Regions from separate parts of the Homo sapiens genome. Here region 1 is linked to region 2. Evidence: promoter capture Hi-C in 16 types of primary human blood cells and fetal thymus (Javierre and others, 2016). All regions are on one chromosome and are shown on one strand. Each heading gives the region's core, a stretch centred on a gene start or on the middle of the fragment in contact. The rest is flanking DNA. Distances are from core to core; before and after follow the strand shown. Region 1 holds the start of TCF3 (transcription factor 3). Region 2 holds the start of NDUFS7 (NADH:ubiquinone oxidoreductase core subunit S7).

Evidence for each region. The method cuts DNA at HindIII sites, captures the fragments that hold promoters and counts their contacts. A CHiCAGO score of 5 or more calls a contact.
Region 1: the fragment with the promoter of TCF3 here is called in contact with the fragment with the promoter of NDUFS7 in region 2 in 5 of 17 cell types (neutrophils, erythroblasts, M0 macrophages and 2 more); the score reaches 5.5 in neutrophils.

What each region holds. Positions count from the first base shown.
Region 1 is chr19:1,651,158-1,653,928 of GRCh38, reverse strand. It overlaps TCF3 (transcription factor 3), which reads left to right and starts at 1,314. Exons shown (of 19, transcript NM_003200.5): 1 at 1,314-1,629. RefSeq lists enhancers at 576-685, 806-855 and silencers at 1,146-1,195, 1,206-1,335, 1,866-1,945, 2,036-2,265, 2,073-2,295 and 1 more. The HindIII fragment of the contact is 10,400 bases long and covers 1-2,771 here.
Region 2 is chr19:1,382,510-1,385,280 of GRCh38, reverse strand. NDUFS7 (NADH:ubiquinone oxidoreductase core subunit S7) reads right to left here and starts at 1,374. Exons shown (of 8, transcript NM_024407.5): 1 at 1,339-1,374. The coding sequence starts at 1,354. It overlaps TRF-GAA1-6 (tRNA-Phe (anticodon GAA) 1-6), which reads left to right and starts at 1,847; the gene lies at 1,847-1,919. TRN-GTT2-6 (tRNA-Asn (anticodon GTT) 2-6) reads right to left here and starts at 1,718; the gene lies at 1,645-1,718. RefSeq lists silencers at 1,245-1,304, 1,555-1,694, 1,875-2,004. The HindIII fragment of the contact is 18,765 bases long and covers 1-2,771 here.

The sequences.
Region 1 (2,771 bases), core at 65-2,564, 270 kb before region 2:
TTATTTTATTTTACTTATTTATTTATTTATTTTGAGACGGAGTTTCGTCCTTGTTGCCCAGGCTGGAGTACAATGGCGTGCTCTCGGCTCATTGCAACCTCCGCCTTTCGGGTGAAAGCGATTCTGCTGCCTCAGCCTCCCGAGTAGCTAGGACTACAGGTGCCCGCCACCATGCCCGGCTAATTTTTGTATTTTTAGTAGAGATGGGGTTTCACCGTGTTGGCCAGAGAGGTCTCGAACTCCTGACTTCAGGTGATCTGCCCGCCTTGGCCTCCCAAAGTGCTGGGAATACAAGCGTGGGCCACCGCGTCCGGTCAACTTTTTAAATTATTATTTTAAATTATTTTAAATATTTTTAGAGACGGGTGTGGGTGGGGGGGGTTTCACTATGTTGTTCAGGCTGTTCTCGAACTCCTGGCCTCAAGCGATCTTCCCGCCTCGGCCTCCTTCAAAGCGCTGGGATCACAGGCAGGAGCCACGGCGCCCGATCCTAGGCGGGGTCACTTTTTACTAAAATGTAGACACGGACTACTAAGAATCAGGAAGCCAGATCTGGCCTGAGTTCTGTCCAAAGTCAGGTCCAAATTCACAGATGCCGAGACGGAGACTCAAGTCGGCAAAGGCACCGCTGAGACTCCCCGCGGGGCTCTCTGACCCAGAGCCGGAGCCAGAGTCGGTTTTCCCGCCGGGAAAATGGGTCTGACGTAGCCCCCTCGGGGCCGTGATACCCGCTCGCACCACTCAGCACGCGGGGCCGGCCCGAGGAACGCAAATATAACCAAGCAGAAGGCTCCGCGCGGGCGGCCACGCCAACCTGAGAACAAAACTCCAGGACCCACCCCGGCCGCCTCTCGCGGCCTCTCGCTCGCAGAGTCCCGCCTCTGCTGAGGGGCGGGGCCGAGAAGAAAGGAGGCGGGGCCTCACCACGAATGGCTAGGATCCCCGCCCATCAGACTTTCGCGGCTTCCGATTGACCAGACTGCTCTGCCTTAGCTTTCAATCTCACGGGCCTTACTCGCTTGCGTCATGGACTAAGCGCACAGCTCGTGTGTGCTTCCGCGGACGGGGATAGTCCGTGATTTCTCCCCGCGCCGTGGCCCGACCGCCTCCTCTGCGCGTCCCCGCTCCCAGGCTCTGGACCTCACGGGATTCGGGGTCCTCACGAGGGTGCTCGAGAGGCCGAGCTAGGGCGTTCGGGCCCGAGCCGCCCGGAGGTGGCGGAGGGATCCGCGTGGGCCGCCGGGCGGGGCACTCGGGGGCGGGGCAGGGGCGGGGCCTGCACGGGGCGGGGCGGGGCGGCGCGGGCGGGGGGCGGAACATGTCTCCCGCCGCAGGAAGATGAGGCAGCGGCGGCGGCTGCGGGCGTAGCGGGCCGGAGCCGACGCGGCGGCGGGCACCGCGGGCACCGCGCACGCCGCTGCCCCAGGGGCGCCCCGGCCGGCCGCGCGCACGGGCCCCGCGGGACGGGCCACGCGGGGGTGGGAGGGGCCCGGGCCACGCGCGCCGCCGCCGCCGCCCACGCGCGACCCTCGGGGGCCCGGCCGCGACGCACCTTTGTCCGGGGGGGGGCCCCCCCGCTTCATGCCGCCGCCCCCCCCCACGCGCCGCGTGCCCGGCCGCGCCCAGCAGGTGAGCCCGGCGGGGGGCGGGGGGCGCGCCCGGTACCCCCGTGCTTTGTGCCCAGGGAACCCCGGCCCGCCCCGCGCGCGCTTGTTGGGGGGGGGCGCGGAGGAAGTTGGGGCGGGGGCGGTGTCGGGGGGCGCCCCGCGGCCCGGGAGTCATTGTTCTCCAACTTCGCGCGGCGCCGGGGGGGCGGCGACGTGGAGGAGCCCGGAGCTCGCCAGGCCCGCGTCGCCCCCGTCGGGCCGGGCACTTCGGGAAACTTTAAGCAGCCCCGGGCGGGGGCGCGGGGGGCGCCGGACGGGCTGTGCAACTTAGGCGCGAGGACCGTCCCCCCCAGCCCGGGCGCACGGGGACCCCGGGGCGCCCCCTTTCTCGGGTAGAGGGGGGCCCGGCCCGGGCGCCGGAGTTTGGGGTGGGGAGCGCGCGGGAGGGACGTCCTTTTGTCTGCGCGGGGAAGGTGCCGCGCGCTGCAGGCGCTGGTCGGGGCCGGGCGGGCCGGGGGGGGGCGCGCGGGTAACATCTGCTCCGCGTTAATGCGGGGCGAGGCGGCGGCCGCGCTGCGAGCTTCAAAGGCTCCCGGGCCGCACCGCCTGCACCGGCTGCGGGGGGAGGGGGGTCCGGCTTCCCGGGCCGCCTCCCCCCGGGAAAAAGGCGTTCCAGCGCGCCCCCCGCCTTCGGCGCCGTGCAAAGTGGCTTCAAACATTCTCCAAGTCTCTCAAAGTCCTTGGGACGCCCCAGAAGTCTTCCAGCTCCCGTAGAATGCCCGTTTTAGCTCGCCACCCCCCCAACTAAGTCTGTCTTAAAATCGGTTTCAGCTACCCCACAAAAAAGTGCGGTTTCGTAGTCCTCAAAAAAAGTCAGTTTCACACGCCCTCCAAAAAAGAAAAAAACTGAGCGGGGGAGGGGCTGCGCTGGGGCGCCCGCTTCACACCCGGCCTCCAGTTGGCAGACAAAGAGGGGATTTCTCTGCTTCTGAAGTTGGGTCTCCCTCGACCTCGGAGGCTCCTCCCCACCCCCAGCCTCGGAGGTGTCTCCCGGGCTGCCCCCGTCCCCACCTGGGGACCCCTGGGGAAAGTCGAGACTGGAGGGGCCTGGAGTGCATTTCTTTGGAATGGAAATTTTTCTCTGTACCTTTTTCTGGGGGTGGA
Region 2 (2,771 bases), core at 125-2,624:
GGCCTTCCAAAGTGCTGGGATTACAGGCGTGAGCCACCGCGCGTGGGCCAGGCATTCTTAACAAGGGGCCTGGTGAGGATTCAGAACTGTGAATTTGCTTGGAATAAAAAAATATATATGTCTTTGTTGTCACCAGCATCTTATGGAAAATTAGCCCTTCATTCAATTCTTAGCGTAGGCTGGGTGCCGTGGCTCCCAGCACTTTGGGAGGCTCAGGTGGGAGGATTGCTTGAACTCAGAAGTTCGAGACCAGCCTGGGCAACAGGGCAAGACCCCCATCTCTACTAAAAATACAAAAACTAGCCAGGCATGGTGGCGCACACCTGTGGTCCCAGCTACACAGGACACTGAAGTGCCAGAATCGCTTGAGCCTGGGAGGCACAGGTTGCAGTGATGAGCCAAGATGGCACCACTGCACTCCAGTCTGAGCGACAGAGGCAGACCCTGTCTTAATAAATAAATAAAAAATTCTTAGCATAGACAACAAAATACGGCAGTATTAGCAGGACCTGTAACTTTTCACCAAGCGGAATCACAGATGTTTCCTAGCTATGGTGCAGGGGCTGCAGACGTTTCCGTATCATCAAAGCCTCATTTCCACTCCTCACTCCTTCCAAATCACAGTCGCAATTAGACCTGCCGCTAGATCGCGTTCATAAGGGAAGCACTTAGATTACTAAGTCGCCAATCAGGTTTCAAGACAATCTTTTAATAACTGCCTCTCCGTGTAACTGATTTCCTTGCAATTCTATGGATTTTATTCCATGCATTTAATAACTTTATCTGAGCAGAGGTCCGCAGGCTTCAGCTGATCCCAAAAAAGTCCCTGGAGCAGGACAGGCTCTGCGAGAGGCCCTTACCTCCCAGGGGTGGGGAGGGAGGTGGAGGGTCCAGCAGGGTGGCGTGGATGTCCTGGGTCCTGTTCCTTCCCAGGCCCGGCCCTGTGACCTCGAAGACCCTCAATGGGCCTCAGTTTCCCAGCCTGTCAGGCAGGCCCCGCTCTCTCCAGGGCATCTCAAGAGCAGCCTCGCGGGCCGTGCCCTGGTCTCGGGGACGTGAATGGGGCCCCTCCAGCCTCCACCCCGAGCGCCTTCCTGAGGCTGGAGGCTTGCGTCATGACCTACCGGGCCTCGGTTTCCCCGACTGTACTCTGGACGCAATAACGGCGACCGTTCATCGCAAGCCGGGCGGGGAGCCCGAGGAGCGGCCGGCTCGGAGAAGCCCGGAGAGGACCGCGGCCACGACGCCGGCACCGACCCCCGACGCCACCACGACACCCGAGGCTCCCACGGCCCCAGACCCGCGCGGCCCCACACCCGCCGCCGGTGCCGCGCTCACCTGACAGCACCGCCATCTTGGCCTCGGCCTTCAGACAACCTCTGAGGTCCGTTCTCCTTAGCGCTCCGGGTTCCCGGGGCCGCCGCCCAAAGCGGCTCGGAGCGCATGCGGAAACCGGAACCTGGAGCCGGGAGGTTCCGCTGCGCTTTCGGCCTCCGTGGTCGTGTTGCGCCGTGCACCCCCAGATCACCCGAGGCGGAAAGGTCATCGGAGTGCGCACGTGGGGGCCGCGGGTCTGCGGCGGACCGACAAAAACAGAGGCGACACTCATTTTCTTGTTATTCCAGGAGGGCAAAAGTCACCACGCGTCCCTGGGTGGGCTCGAACCACCAACCTTTCGGTTAACAGCCGAACGCGCTAACCGATTGCGCCACAGAGACGACACTGCGCTCCGGCGCCCTGGGAGACCTTACAAAGGATGTGGGGCCTGCTGACGCGAAACGACTGCGCCTGCGCAGGGAAGGCGCAGCGCGGGACGGAGTCCCGGCGAGAGCGACTCTGCCGCCCAGCCGAAATAGCTCAGTTGGGAGAGCGTTAGACTGAAGATCTAAAGGTCCCTGGTTCGATCCCGGGTTTCGGCAGAAGTTTTAGCGCCTCTTGCGATCACTGATGTCTTTCGTTCAGGATTGGTCCAGCTGCCTCGCAGCTATCCCGGACCCCTTACCGCAACATCACCGCATTCTGCAGAGGAGTCGCCGCGATGTGGACTCATCCCAAAGTAAGGGGGCTCAGACCTCACAACCCCAAAGCCTCCTCTTCCCACCCCTAAGAGGTCATAATTTCAGCTCAAACTTCCCCCTTCCCTGACACACCCTCGATTTTCCATCTTGCTTAAATTGATAAGTTTACAACCAGTACTAATGATATAAAAACTAACACTAAACACCCAAACTAGCAAAACAGAGTTTGCAGAACGCTTTCTGCATGCATATCATTTAATTTTCACAATTCCACTGGAGGTTTTGTCTGCCTGTTTTATGATTACAAAAACAGAGGCAAAGGCCGGTGCGGTGGTTCACGCCTGTAATCCCAGCACTTTGGGAGGCTGAGGCAGGCAAATCACCTGAGGTCAGGAGTTCAAAACCAACCTGGCCAATATGGTGAAACCCTGTATCTAAATCCCAGCTACTCGGGAGGCTGAGGCAAGAGAATCACTTGAATCCGGGAAGCGGAGGTTGCAATGAGCTGAGATCGTGCCACCGCACTCCAGCCTGGGCGACAGAGTGAGACTCCATCTCAAAAAAAAAAAAAAAAGAAAAAAGAAAAAGAAAAAGTAAAGAAAACAGAGGCTCAAATTAGGTGAACACAGGTGACTAGCAAGACTGGGGGCCCCTTGAGGACCACAACAAGTGTTTACTGAATTCGTGCCATGGGCTGGGGACCCACTGCTGAGCAAAGCCAGGCCTGGTCTCTGTTCTTGGGCAGCTCAAAAG